Regions from separate parts of the Homo sapiens genome. Here all the other regions are linked to region 1. The links are contacts of gene promoters, found by promoter capture Hi-C in blood cells and fetal thymus (Javierre and others, 2016). All regions are on one chromosome and are shown on one strand. Each heading gives the region's core, a stretch centred on a gene start or on the middle of the fragment in contact. The rest is flanking DNA. Distances are from core to core; before and after follow the strand shown. Region 1 holds the start of SRSF1 (serine and arginine rich splicing factor 1). Region 2 overlaps MRPS23 (mitochondrial ribosomal protein S23). Region 3 has its middle 6.3 kb from the start of OR4D2.

Region 1 (4,303 bases), core at 1,045-3,544:
TACCAAAGGTCATCTGTAGATATACCGAGGATCTACGGCCACAAGACCAAGCATCCCTGCTCATTTCAAATTGAATTTGTATTTTGGGGTCACCGAGAAACATTTGTAAAATATATTTCATCAGCTTTTAGAATTAAGAAAACATGTCCTTCTCCTGAATGACCTATTTACTTTTATCCCAAAGGCACTTTGGATTTTGAATACACAATACTTCTGTACCCTTCTTTACCGTGACTTCTGGGAAGACTAAAGTAAAATTTGCAATCTATCTCAACAAATTCAACGGGCTTTCACTGCAGGCATTTTGTATAGTAATTTATGCGTATTTCATTTAATCCACCCCTCATTTTCCCATTCCTCTGATTTCTTACTCTAGCATTTTTTTTGTGTGTGTGTGAGATGGAGTCTTGTTCTGTCACCCAGGCTGGAGTGCAGTGGCGTGATTTCCGCTCACTGCAGCCTCCACCTCCTAAGGGTTCAAGAGATTGTCCTGTCTCACCCTACCGAGTAGCTGGGATTACAGGCACGCGCCACCATACCCAGCTAATGTTTTGTATTTTTAGAAGATACGGGTTTCGACATGTTGGTCTCCGACTCCTGACCTCAGGTGATCCGCCCGCCTCGGCCTCCCAAAGTGCTGGGATTACAGGAGTGAGCCACCACGCCCAGCCTCATCTAGTTTTCATGTTTTATGGTATCTCTGTAAGTTGCCTCACATCCTTGCGGAAAGGGACTACTGTAAATAAATAACATGAAGAAAATTATCCCTTAAATTCAGTGTGTAGATCTGTTATGGCAAATTTATGACTGCAGGGTTTGATTTTAATTTGTTGTTGTTTCCCCCTCCTTTTTTTTTTTTTTGGAGGAGTCTCACTCTGTAGCCCAGGCTGCAGTGCAATGGCGCCATCTCAGCTCACTGCAACCTCCGCCTCCAGGGTTCTAGCGATTCTCCTGCCTCAGCCTCCCGCGTAGAGTGGATTACAGGCGCCTGCCACCAAGCCCGGCTAATTTTTTGTTTTTTCAGTAGAGACGGGATTTCACCATGTTGGCCAGGCTGGTCTCGAATTCCTGACCTCAAGTGATCCAACCGCCTCGGCCTCCCAAAGTGCTGGCGTGAGCCACCGCGCCCAGCCTGATTTGAATTTTAATTCATTAGCGACGTTTAAAAATCCCAGGATTTCACATAAAAATCCAGATTTCAGACGTCGAAAAAAAATGTAAAATGTTATCTCCCAATGCCGCAGGCAAACAGGATCACAGTCCTGAATAGCAACCGCGGTATCTAGTGGTTACGGTTCTCACATCCATTTTGCTCCATTTTATTACCTGAGAGGACCGGTATTTTCAAAACCTGGTGTATCAGTAACTTTTAGGGAAAACTTTTGAAAAAAGGACTGCACACACGCACCCTTTCTTCCTTCTCGTTCTTTGAAAGGAAACAACAGAAACGATTCATTCTGCAGGCATTCTGCGCTAGTCCCACGGACAGGCGACTAACAAGAGATAAAAAGGTGTGGGTCCCATAGGCGGTACGGTGTTACCCCTTCTGGTTGGCGGGTACCACGTTGCCGGTCGGGATACGGACCCACTGCGACTAGCACTAGGAGTGCTGACCCGAGCTATGCAAAGTTCTGACGAGAAGGCGGAACGGTACTTAATGAAGAGGATTAAGGAATCTAAATCGGTTTCGCTAAATTAGACACATCTGTCTAAGCAGCCACGGTCTATTCGCAGCAGGGGCGGGAAGACAAACCAACGCCCCAGCTCTCCGTTCAATCACCCGCAACTCAGCTCTGGATTAGACGCACCCTACGAAGATACCCGGGTTTCCGGAGCAACCGCCCGGGCCGTCCCCCTTTGGCCCCGCCTCCGAGACTCTTTCCCGCCAAAGGCCGTTATCGCCGCAGAGCATGGTGGGACAACGCTTTAGGCTAGGTTTCACCAAGTGCTTTGAAGGCGCCGAGTTGCTTTCAAAGATCCTCATTCCTGGAGAAATCGACCATCCTTCAAGACCCGACCTGGATGACTAGCTCCTTTAACGAAAGTTCGTTATTTAACTTTTACCAAACGGCTGGTCACTCTGTTCGCAAACCACCCCAAGCTGGGAACGCGGGGGACTTTTTTACCCCCTTCGTGGGGAGGGTGACGTCGCGCGTGCGTGCGCGTGCGCTGAACGTAGCCCTCGCAGCACCCGTTGCGCTCCCGCGCGTGCGTGTTGGGATCGAATCGCTGTTTCCTTCCGCTTCTCTTCCTCTGTCTCCCCCCCATATCCGTGCGCCGAGCTGATAAAGGCGCCATTTTGGAGGGGCCGCGGGAGACGTGGTGCCGCTGCGGGCTCGCTCTGCCGTGCGCTAGGCTTGGTGGGAAGGCCTGTTCTCGAGTCCGCGCTTTTCGTCACCGCCATGTCGGGAGGTGGTGTGATTCGTGGCCCCGCAGGGAACAACGATTGCCGCATCTACGTGGGTAACTTACCTCCAGACATCCGAACCAAGGACATTGAGGACGTGTTCTACAAATACGGCGCTATCCGCGACATCGACCTCAAGAATCGCCGCGGGGGACCGCCCTTCGCCTTCGTTGAGTTCGAGGACCCGCGGTGAGGCGGCATGGGGCTTGCAGCCTTGAGGAAATAGGTCCGAGTAGTTGGGGAAGGCTCCAAGGCCTTAACATAGAGAACGGGGAAGCGGGGGCTCTTAGAGAGGTTGGGGCGAGACTGTATCGCCCATGCAGGAGTCGAGTAAGGAGCTGAGTTGATGTGGCTTCTCTGGCGCCTCGCCTTGGACGTCCCCGGAGCCCATTCGCAGGCTGGAGCGGGAAACTGAGGCGCTGAGGGCTGGTGTAGTGGTTGGGAGCCTGGCGTGTTTCTGGGTGGGGGAGGGGCCATTCCTATTATGCGGCGCATGTGGGCTCTTCCACGTTGGGTGCGCATGTGCGGGGGGTTTGCTGGTTCCCAACTGAGCGAGCTTCTCCTCCTGGTGTTTCTCATCCCTTTTACTTTCTGCGATCCCGCAGAGACGCGGAAGACGCGGTGTATGGTCGCGACGGCTATGATTACGATGGGTACCGTCTGCGGGTGGAGTTTCCTCGAAGCGGCCGTGGAACAGGCCGAGGCGGCGGCGGGGGTGGAGGTGGCGGAGCTCCCCGAGGTCGCTATGGCCCCCCATCCAGGCGGTCTGAAAACAGAGTGGTTGTCTCTGGTGAGTGTACTGGTTGTGTGGATTGATGTGAAGGGACGAAAACTACCTAAAATTTTTCTCTTGCGTGACAGGTTTAATAATTGCAAATTTTTCATGCTAGGTCTTAAATTGCTTTAGTTTTTGGGTGAATTTAATAAACGAGGATTGCTGCTGTGGTGATTTACCAAATTAGGTTGCGGTACTAGATACGAAGATCGTTACAAATAATTTTGGACTCTGGATTCCAGAATCTTACCAGCTCTCTTTACCTGGTATCACTTAAGTACACCTATTAAGTACTTTAAAGTACTCTTTGTCCTAATGTACCTTACCAGCTTAACGTGAAATTTAAGATAATTGGTACTAAGAAAAAAAAAATCACTTTTTCAGGACTGCCTCCAAGTGGAAGTTGGCAGGATTTAAAGGATCACATGCGTGAAGCAGGTGATGTATGTTATGCTGATGTTTACCGAGATGGCACTGGTGTCGTGGAGTTTGTACGGAAAGAAGATATGACCTATGCAGTTCGAAAACTGGATAACACTAAGTTTAGATCTCATGAGGTAGGTTATACACGTATTCTTTTCTTTGACCAGAATTGGATACAGTGGTCTTAACAGTGGAATTTCAAGGTAAGGATTCAGGCAAGGTTGTCCAAGTAAATTGCCAGATTTCTGGTTTTAGTTACATTGTATTCATTCAGCATGTCTGAAGATAGATGAAAGCTTAGATCTTTCAATGGAAAGTTCTGTCTATCCAATAGGGAGAAACTGCCTACATCCGGGTTAAAGTTGATGGGCCCAGAAGTCCAAGTTATGGAAGATCTCGATCTCGAAGCCGTAGTCGTAGCAGAAGCCGTAGCAGAAGCAACAGCAGGAGTCGCAGTTACTCCCCAAGGAGAAGCAGAGGATCACCACGCTATTCTCCCCGTCATAGCAGATCTCGCTCTCGTACATAAGATGATTGGTGACACTTTTTGTAGAACCCATGTTGTATACAGTTTTCCTTTATTCAGTACAATCTTTTCATTTTTTAATTCAAACTGTTTTGTTCAGAATGGGCTAAAGTGTTGAATTGCATTCTTGTAATATCCCCTTGCTCCTAACATCTACATTCCCTTCGTGTCT
Region 2 (4,303 bases), core at 1,148-3,647, 170 kb after region 1:
CTTCATTCAAGTAGTAATGATTATTTACCTATTAAGAGTATAGGGTGGGCGTGGTGGCTCATGTAATCCCAGCACTTTGGGAAGTCAAGATGGGTAGATCACTTGAAGTCAGGAGTTTGAGACCAGCCTGGGCAACATGATGAAACCCCATCTCTACTAAAAATACAAAAGTTAGCTGGATGTGGTGGCAGCCTCCTGTAATCCCAACTACTCGGCAGGCTGAGGCAGGAGAATCGCTTGAACCCAGGAGGTGGAGGTTACAGTGAGCTGAGATCATGCTACAGCACCCCAGCCTGGGCGACAGAAGAGAGACACTGTCTCAAAAAAAAAAAAAAAAAAAGTATAAAGGAGGGCAGAAATTCTTATTCTTTTAACCCATTGAAACATTAAACAGCCTTTCAGGAGCAGACCCTCCTACGGATTTGCTGAATCCAAGGCGAGGAAGGCATATATCCAGGTTACAGTGAAGTTTGCCCCAGACAAGTAATGAAGATTTGGGTTCTAGATCTGGATACTCCAGGCAGTTTTTACTATGTGACCCTGTGCCTGTCACAGTATTTCAGCCTGTAAAATATGGACAATGTTTGCCTTTTTGGCTTCCAGTTAGCTTTGTGAGGATTAATTGAGATGAGTGCAAAGCTCATTTGTAATGTGTGGCTGGTGGTTTTATTACTATTTTGAGCAGTAGTGGAAAAGCCCATTTGAACTGGTAGGATGAGATAAGATCATGGTGGCCTTGACAACTACATGGAGGAGCCAGTTGGGTATGGGAAAGTTTGAGCAGGGAAAGAAAGAATGTAGTGAAAGCAGTGTCAGGTCAAAGAAAGGTTTGCCTAGGAGTGATGTAAAGAATGGGATGGAGGAGTGGGCAGGGAAGGAGGAAAGAGGAGACATGTCAGAGGGACCAAAAAGGAGGCAGCAAGTCCAAGGTCACAAACCTGAGTGACTAGAAAACTTAGCAGCATCACTAACACCCAGTTGGTGACGTGGAACTGGTGCTCTCCTGGGAGAGAGCTTCAATTCTCAACCTACTAAGTTGAAGGTGATGGTGCTATATCTAAGTGGCAGACAGAGATAAGGGATAGGTGTCTACAGGGGCAAGATTTGGAGCCAGGAGAAGAAATGAGCTCTCCAAGGGTAGTGGGGAGAGATCTGGGATGTTGGGGGCTGGCAGGTAAATGCTTTAAGTGATAGAATAGGAGGAATGAGAAAGCCAGCAAAAGAAATTCACGTCCCATGTCTTCCATCATCTATATGTCTGACTTGTTTAAGTGGTCCTGGATTCACCAAATTTTATAGAGCTCTGCCTCTGCCTTTATTGGGTAGGCCTGATTTTTGATGATGTCCTTAAAAGGCTAGCCTGATTCTTCTTGTAGTTTTGTAGAACACTTTGTATCGAGAGTTCTCTGATAATGAAAGTGGTATTACAGAATAATCTGCCCCCGAAGGACTCCTGATTTTGTTAAAGTGATACCTTTCTCTGTAAATAAATGATGGCGTGCCACTTAAAAACCTTCAGCAGATTTCTTTTTTTAAACAAAGTCACTCAAGTGGGACAGTAAGATTTTCTCTGAGGCTGGCACTGGTGCCTGCCTCTGCTCCGGGGAATCCAGACGTGGCACCCGGAGTTGGGCCTCATCCATCCTCAGCTTTCATTTGTGACCAAGCCTGACTCAGAATGGGCTGGCAGTTTTCCTGAGTACATGGGAGTTAGGGCAGAGAACATGATGTGGTGCTGGTAGTCAACGCAAGCTGGCACGGCCTCAGCCAGAAGACTGGAGCTAGGAGCAAGCAAAGGTGAGTGGAGGAGGGGATGGGGAAGGCTGAGACTTCCTGGTCTCTATGTTCTGAGCTCAATTCTAGAATAGCCAAAAGGTGGGAGCCTGACTCGGGCTAAGTTAGTCATGCGTTCTGAGCCTTTGACCGTGCTGGGTGAGATGAGGGATGGCTGAGCAGGTTCAGTGAGCAACTTGGTCGAGGTCACCTTGGCTGGCAGAGGAAGGGCACCTGCCCTCCTGTGGAAAAGACGGGAAATGGCTTTCCTGTCACTCCTAGGGTAGCGCTCAATGTGGCAGGCGGGTCTCTGATTGGATGAGCCCGGCACTGAAGCAGTTTCTGTGGTGATGCTGAACCAGACAAGTGTTTATTGCTGCAGCACGAAAAAGAAAAGGTTGCTAGGGGAAGGCAGAGAAGGCAGGAAGTTAAGTGTTATGTTCCCTACAAAATGTTGCTACTGCCAGCCACCACCACCACCCTCCATCCATGCAGATTACAGACAGGGTTTTTGGGGAATACTAGCTGACAACGAAAATACATTTCAAGTATCATTTTACCCTCAATGAATGCTTTTCCTGGACTGCAACTGAAATAAATGTCAGTCACCGGACCTTCTAGCTCCTCAGTTCTTTTAATTAAAAGATAGTTCTAAGCAAGATCCAGTAGTGGTCTATTTATTATTTATCAAGCATTTTCCTTCCAGCAGTTAGTGAAAGGTCACTGGCTTCAACTGAGCTTTGTTTTTGGTGAGCAGCTTAGATGAAAAAGATATACAATCAATCTCTCCTGTTTGCTCATGGGCAGGACACTGTTTAATAGTCATTGTGGCATTTAGGATCGCAGGCCTCTGAAACATGCAGAAAAGTGCATGTGCATCCCTTGCTGCTGAACATTTCTCCAAAAGTAAACATCAGGTTGTGATTATGGTTAATAATGAGATATTGATTATTTGAAAATGTCACCGCCAGGGACTTGTCGGTTTCAGCACCACTAGATGGCGCTGGACTCTCATGCTGTTCAACTACAGTCATTTCGTTTCCTTGCCTCGGGGTACCTTGCCTTTCAAGGTTGAAGAGTGTCCTTGTAAAAATAATGTTGTGGCTGAAATTTAGGAAGCTGAGGTCCTGGGGTGCTACTGGGATGGGGTAGAGATGGGAGGGGACAGGCCACGGGACAAATGACAAAGGCCTGCCGGGGAAGCGGCACTGTTTGCACCATAATAGGAGCTGGAGAGGAAGGAGCTTACTGCGCTGAGCCCCTGGAGACTCTGCCCAGAGCAGTGTTTCCTAACCTTCTCCAGTCAATGACACATCTGCGAATTTGCTGTGGAGGACAGCGGGAGAGAGAACAGTGCAGGCAGGGAGGCAGAGCAGCGGAAAAAACCCAGGCCTTGGAGAACAGACCTGGGTTTGAAACCCTGATCTGTTGCTTTGTCTGGTGACATTAGGGGAGTTAGTGAACCGTCTGAACCTCAATTTCCTTATCTGTAAAACAAGGGTAACAACGTCTACCTCACTAAGTTGCTGTGAGGACTGAATGAGAACGTGAACAAAGTTCTTGGCGAGTACTCCGTCTTTGCTGTCAGTGCCTAGAAGGCTTTCAGCCACTGTCGATTCCCACTGGGTGGGGAGGAATTAACATGCGCTAGATTAACATTGAGAAGAAACGGTATTGTGTCCTCTTTCACCAGCCACTCGTCTAAACACAGCTTTCTCTATCCCCCACCCCCAGTAGTTACTCTGTCCTTTATCTCCTTCCAAACTTCTAGCACCAAGTAAATGAATCAAATTAAAAAACAACTACAACAACAACAACAAAGGAGGAAACTAGAGAACATCTTGGGAACTATCCGCTTTTGGAACTTATCCCATGCTGGTAGGTTTCACTGGAAAATGTGCATTTATTTAGTAACTTCTTGGATTGTGTATGCCTGTGGGCAAGCGTGTGTGTAGAAACCAACATTTTAAATGACACTCAATGACACTCATTCTGTTTCTTCTTTCCTGCTTCCTTTTTTTAAAAATAGGGACAAAGTCTCTCTCTGTCACTCAGGCTGGGGTGCAGTGGTGCAATCATAGCTCACTTCAGTCTCAACCTCCTGGGCTCAAGTGGTCCTCCTGCCTCAGCCTCCCAGGTAGCTAGGGCTACAGGTGCATGCCACTATGCCAAGCTAATTTTTTATTTTTAATTTTTTTGTAGAGATAGGGTCTCTATGCTATGTCGCTCAGGCTGGTCTCAAATTCCTGGCCTCAAGCGACTCTCCCGCCTTGGCCTCCCAAAGTGCTGGGATTATAGGCATGAGCCACCATGCCCGGCCCTTTTCTGCCTCCTTGCTGCCCCTCTACACTCCCCCCAACTGCCTTCCTTTCAGCACACTTTTCTGCTTTCTTTCTCCACCCTCTTTGCCCCAGATTATGGAGGAAAGCCAGAGGGTCACTACCTAGAGGCCCGGCCAGGGAAAATAGTTCCAACATCAGAGCCATTGTTTTGGGGACCTGGGGCTAGTCAGCAATTAGGAGTTTCTGAA
Region 3 (4,303 bases), core at 1,290-3,789, 170 kb before region 1:
CTACTCCTGTGAGCTGCCCATTGTGGGTGTTAAAGCAAGGTGAAGAGGGTATCCCAGCAAGGGCTGACTCACTATGGGGAGTCAGAGCATGGGAGGGCTAAGAAATGCATCCACACAGAGGTGCAGTTGGACATCAGGTGTTGGAGCTCAAGCAAAATGAGGAGGAGCATGGAAAGTGTCCTGATGTGGGATGTTGGAGCATGTGTGGGGTAAGAAAAGTGGCTGGGAAGGGCGCTGGCCTGAAGCAGGATATCAGAGCCCAAGCGGAGTGAGGAAAGTATCTGGTGAAGGAATGGAAACAGATATGGAGTGACTAGGAAAGACTGGTTGCATAGAGAAGTGAATTACATAAATTATTATCTTAAATATGATGATGTCATAAAAATAGCAGTCTGGGAATCCGAGGGCTCATCTCTCCATAGAAAGGAAAAAAAAAAAATAAAAGCAGAAGTGATCAGAATCAACCTTGTTGGAATTCTGGAAAATTGTCAAAGAAAATAGTCAAATAGCAACTAAATGAACTTTGTTTCAAAAGGTGACTGAAACACAGTAGGAAAACTTTTAACTTATTGTTGTTCCACACTCCTCCCAGCTTGGTGGTCTTGAAGATGGCAATGTATGTTCCTGGTGTGAGTCCCTGGTTCCGGAAGGAGCAGAATGAACCTTGTTCCCTAGGATTGTATTGTCTGTTTTGAAATGTCTGGGGGTTCCTGAAGGACTGATGTGAGGAGCTTGCCTTTGTTTTACCTAACTCAGAATTCACTATGGGCAGAAAAGTGGCTACGTAAAAAGTATTCCTCAAAAACACTGAAAATCAAATGAGCACGCCTCTGCCACCTGGGGCAATCAAACACACACCAAAAGCTTGAGAGGAAAAGTTAGGAACAGAGATACTTTGGTGAATAAGAACTTTGGAAAGTTCCTGTATATACTATGAAATCTAGAATGCCACATTCTGCATATAAGGGCAGGATGAAAACACAGACTTGGGACAGTCCTAAGATATAAGTTCTGGCTAATCTTTAGGCCCAATGCAAGCAGAAAGTGAAGGCTAAGGCAGAGCTGTAAACATCCTTGTTAAGTGTTGAGGGAGTATCCAAACACAGAGCCAATCTGGAAAGACTGGGAGAGTATATTTTCTTTCTTTTTCATTTCTTTGTTGTATTAGTTCATTCTCATATTGCTATAAAGAAATATCTGAGACTAAGACTCGTAATTTATAAAGAAAAGAGGTTTAATTGGCTCATGATTGTGCAGGCTGTACAGGAAGCATAATGCTGGCATCTGTTTGGCTTCTGGGGAGGCCTCAGGAAACTTACAATAATGGTGGGAGGTGAAGTGGGAGCAGGCACTTCACATGGCTGGAGCAGGAGGAAGAGAGAGTAAGAGGGAGGCACCACACACTTTTAAATGACCAGATCTCATGAGAACTCACACACTATTGCAAGGTCAGTACCAAGGGAAGGATGGTGCTAAACTATTCGTGAGAAATTCATCCCCATGATCTAATCACCTCCCACCAGGCATCACCTCCAACACTGGGGATTATAATTCCACATGAGATTTCATGGGACACAGGTCCAAGCCATATCATTTGTCTACAGGCATTTAACAAAGTTACTGTAAAGCCATTAGATGACTATGAACTAAGGAAACAGATTTCAGAGGCCATATTTGACAAAAAAAAAAGTTTTAAAAGTCACTAAACAAACAACTGCAACTCACAGCAAGAAAAAACAACAAATAATAGGGAGCAGGAAGAAAATTATTTCCACTCCTACAACATTATAATATTTAAAATGTGCGGTTTTCACAAAATATTATGAGACATGCAAACAAACAAGAGAGTATGGCCCTTTCAAGGGAAGAAAAGAAATTAGCAGAAACTTCCTGAGAAAAAACAGACATTTGACTTAACTAGACAAAGACTTTAAAGCAACTTTCTTGAACATAGAGTAAACTATGGGTAAAGAATTAAAGGAAGAAGAATGTTTTACATAGAAAATATCAAAAAAGAGAGAGAAATTGATTTAAAATAAGAAATAGTCTGGAGCTGAAAAGTACAATAAAAGTAACTGAAATGAAAAGTTCACAGGACGGTTTCAATAGGAGCTTTCGAGTAGGTAGAAGAAAGAATCAGCTGGGCCTGGTGGCTTACACCTGTAATTCCAGCACCTTGGGAGGCCGAGGCGGGTTGATCACGAGGTCAGGAGTTCAAGACCAGCCTGGCCAACATGGTAAAACCCTGTCTCTACTAAATATACAAAAATTAGCTGGGTGTGGTGACACGCGCCTGTAGCCCCAGCTACTCAGGAGGCTGAGGCAGGAGAATTGCTTGAAACTGGAAGGCGGAGGTTGCAGTGAGCCAAGATCACACCATTGCACTCCAGTCTGGGCAACAGAGTGAGACTGTCTTAAAAAATAAAAATAAAATCAATGAATCTGAAGATAGGTTAGTTGAGTTCCAAGATTTCTGTTTGACATTTTGGAATCATTTCAGTCTCTTTGTTAAATTTCTAAATTGCTTTTCTGTGTTTTCTTGGAGATCAGTGAGTTTCCTTGAAACTCCTATTTTGAATTCTTGGTCAGAGAGCTCACTAATCACCATCTTGTTAGGATCAGTGACTGGATTTTTGCTTTTTCCTTTTGAGGAAGTCATAGTTCCCTGTTTGCTGTTGTTTCTTGTGGGTATGTATCCATCTTTCCAGTTTTCTCTGTACAGCTTGTTTTGGTTTTTATTGAATACATTTGCTTATTGAATCTTCACTGCTAGGTCACTGCCTCTATTCGACTCTAGGTGGTGCCTTAAGCCCAGGTTCACCTCAGGACTAGTAAATGGTTGAAGCACTTCCTGTCTCAAATCAAGGAGATCCCAAAGAGATTATCCTGGCAGTGTGGGAAGTCTGGCTAGGGGTTTGTGCCCAGGGGACCTGGGGAACATGCCTCCTACAGCATGGTGCTGCTGGACAGCAACTCTGAGTTGGTGTCTCCTTTGGCTGAGTTACAGAGCAGAATTTCTCTGCCTTTCTTCGGGGACATTTCTTCTTTCAGGCAGTCATGATGCTATCTGTGGATTAAGGCAAGAACAGTTCTCCTGCCAGGGACCCCAAGAAGGTAAGGAAGCTGGTGGGCCACCTCAATTTCAGTTTTTCCAGTGTAGAAACTGTAGTTGGGAGGAGATTTTTTGGCACTTGGTGCTGGACAGAATGGGGATGAGGGGTGTCCCAGATGTGGAAGTCTGATTCTCCTATCAGCTGCTTGGACTTTTTTCATCCCTCTGTGGCCCCAAGAACTGTCTCACTCTTATACTTGAGCTCTGGGTTGTTTCTGGTGTAGATCTCAGTGCTATATATTTGTTTTTGGTTCTGTGGAAGTCGGGGAGTGAATCCAATTTTCCTCTATGATGGCATTTCGGAATCAGAGGTCTAGAGATATTATAGGTCAATTGAAATCATCCAGTCTAAGGAGCAAAAAGAAGAATAAACGAAAATGAACATAGGCTCAGAAGCCTGTGAGACACCATCAAGGATACCAAGACACACACATAATGAGAATCCTGGAAGAAGAGGAGAGAAAGGCGCAGTAAAAATAGTTTAGGCAATAATGGTCACAACTCCAACATGGAGAAACCCCATCTCTACTGAAAATGCAAAACTTAGCTGGGTGTGGTGATGAGTGAACTCCGGCCTCGGCAGCAGAGTGAAACTTCGTCTCAAAAAAAGCACTCTCCAATAGCCAAAACCTGGAAACAACCCAAATAAACTTATTTTCACAGTGGAATATTCTACAGCAGAGCAAATGAATGAATTAGAGCCAAACATCAACATGTTATGTTAGAAACATAACATGGAGTGAAAAAAGCAAATCCCAGAATATTATGTACAGTACAATATCTTTATAAAACTCCAAAGTAGCAAAACAATATACTGTTTATGTAAAAAAAGTGATGAAACTATTTTATACAAGCAATGAAGTGATAAACATGAAATTCAACAGAGTGATTTCTTCTGGATAGGAATCAAGGTGAACACAATGGAGAGGACAATACAGGTGAAGGCAAGTTATTGGTAACTTCTGGTTCTTGAATCGAGTAGTGTATACATGAGCATTTATACATAATGACATAAGTTTCATAATGTGCATGCATTGCCCATGATCTTTTATTCAAAATTTGTATATTATATTAAAATGTAAATATAGAGAGAAAAAGCTTGAATACTCATAATAATTTCATATTTGAAAATAAAATACAATCATTTTTAAAAGCTTGGAAGATAACATATAGTTATATGATTTACTTGTT

What was found. Contacts are between HindIII fragments. The CHiCAGO score rates a contact against its expected background, and 5 or more counts as called.
Region 2: a contact is called between a fragment that was not itself captured here and the fragment with the promoter of SRSF1 in region 1, in 2 of 17 cell types (neutrophils and monocytes). The highest score is 9.9, in neutrophils.
Region 3: a contact is called between a fragment that was not itself captured here and the fragment with the promoter of SRSF1 in region 1, in 2 of 17 cell types (naive CD4 T cells and total CD8 T cells). The highest score is 5.1, in naive CD4 T cells.

Annotation. Positions count from the first base shown.
Region 1 is chr17:58,005,237-58,009,539 of GRCh38, reverse strand. SRSF1 (serine and arginine rich splicing factor 1) reads left to right here and starts at 2,294. Exons shown (of 4, transcript NM_006924.5): 1 at 2,294-2,596; 2 at 3,013-3,197; 3 at 3,567-3,739; 4 at 3,940-4,303. The coding sequence starts at 2,403. The coding sequence ends at 4,134. RefSeq lists enhancers at 1,943-1,992, 1,941-2,659, 2,783-2,832, 3,103-3,152, 3,484-4,303. The HindIII fragment of the contact is 5,045 bases long and covers 1-3,903 here.
Region 2 is chr17:57,831,990-57,836,292 of GRCh38, reverse strand. It overlaps MRPS23 (mitochondrial ribosomal protein S23), which reads left to right. Exons shown (of 5, transcript NM_016070.4): 5 at 1-1,512. Among named protein-coding and RNA genes, the nearest start is that of MRPS23, 16 kb to the left of the region's middle. RefSeq lists enhancers at 1,850-2,350, 2,519-3,029, 3,030-3,541. The HindIII fragment of the contact is 6,404 bases long and covers 1-4,303 here.
Region 3 is chr17:58,171,153-58,175,455 of GRCh38, reverse strand. No RefSeq gene overlaps it. Among named protein-coding and RNA genes, the nearest start is that of OR4D2, 6.3 kb to the right of the region's middle. The HindIII fragment of the contact is 3,346 bases long and covers 867-4,212 here.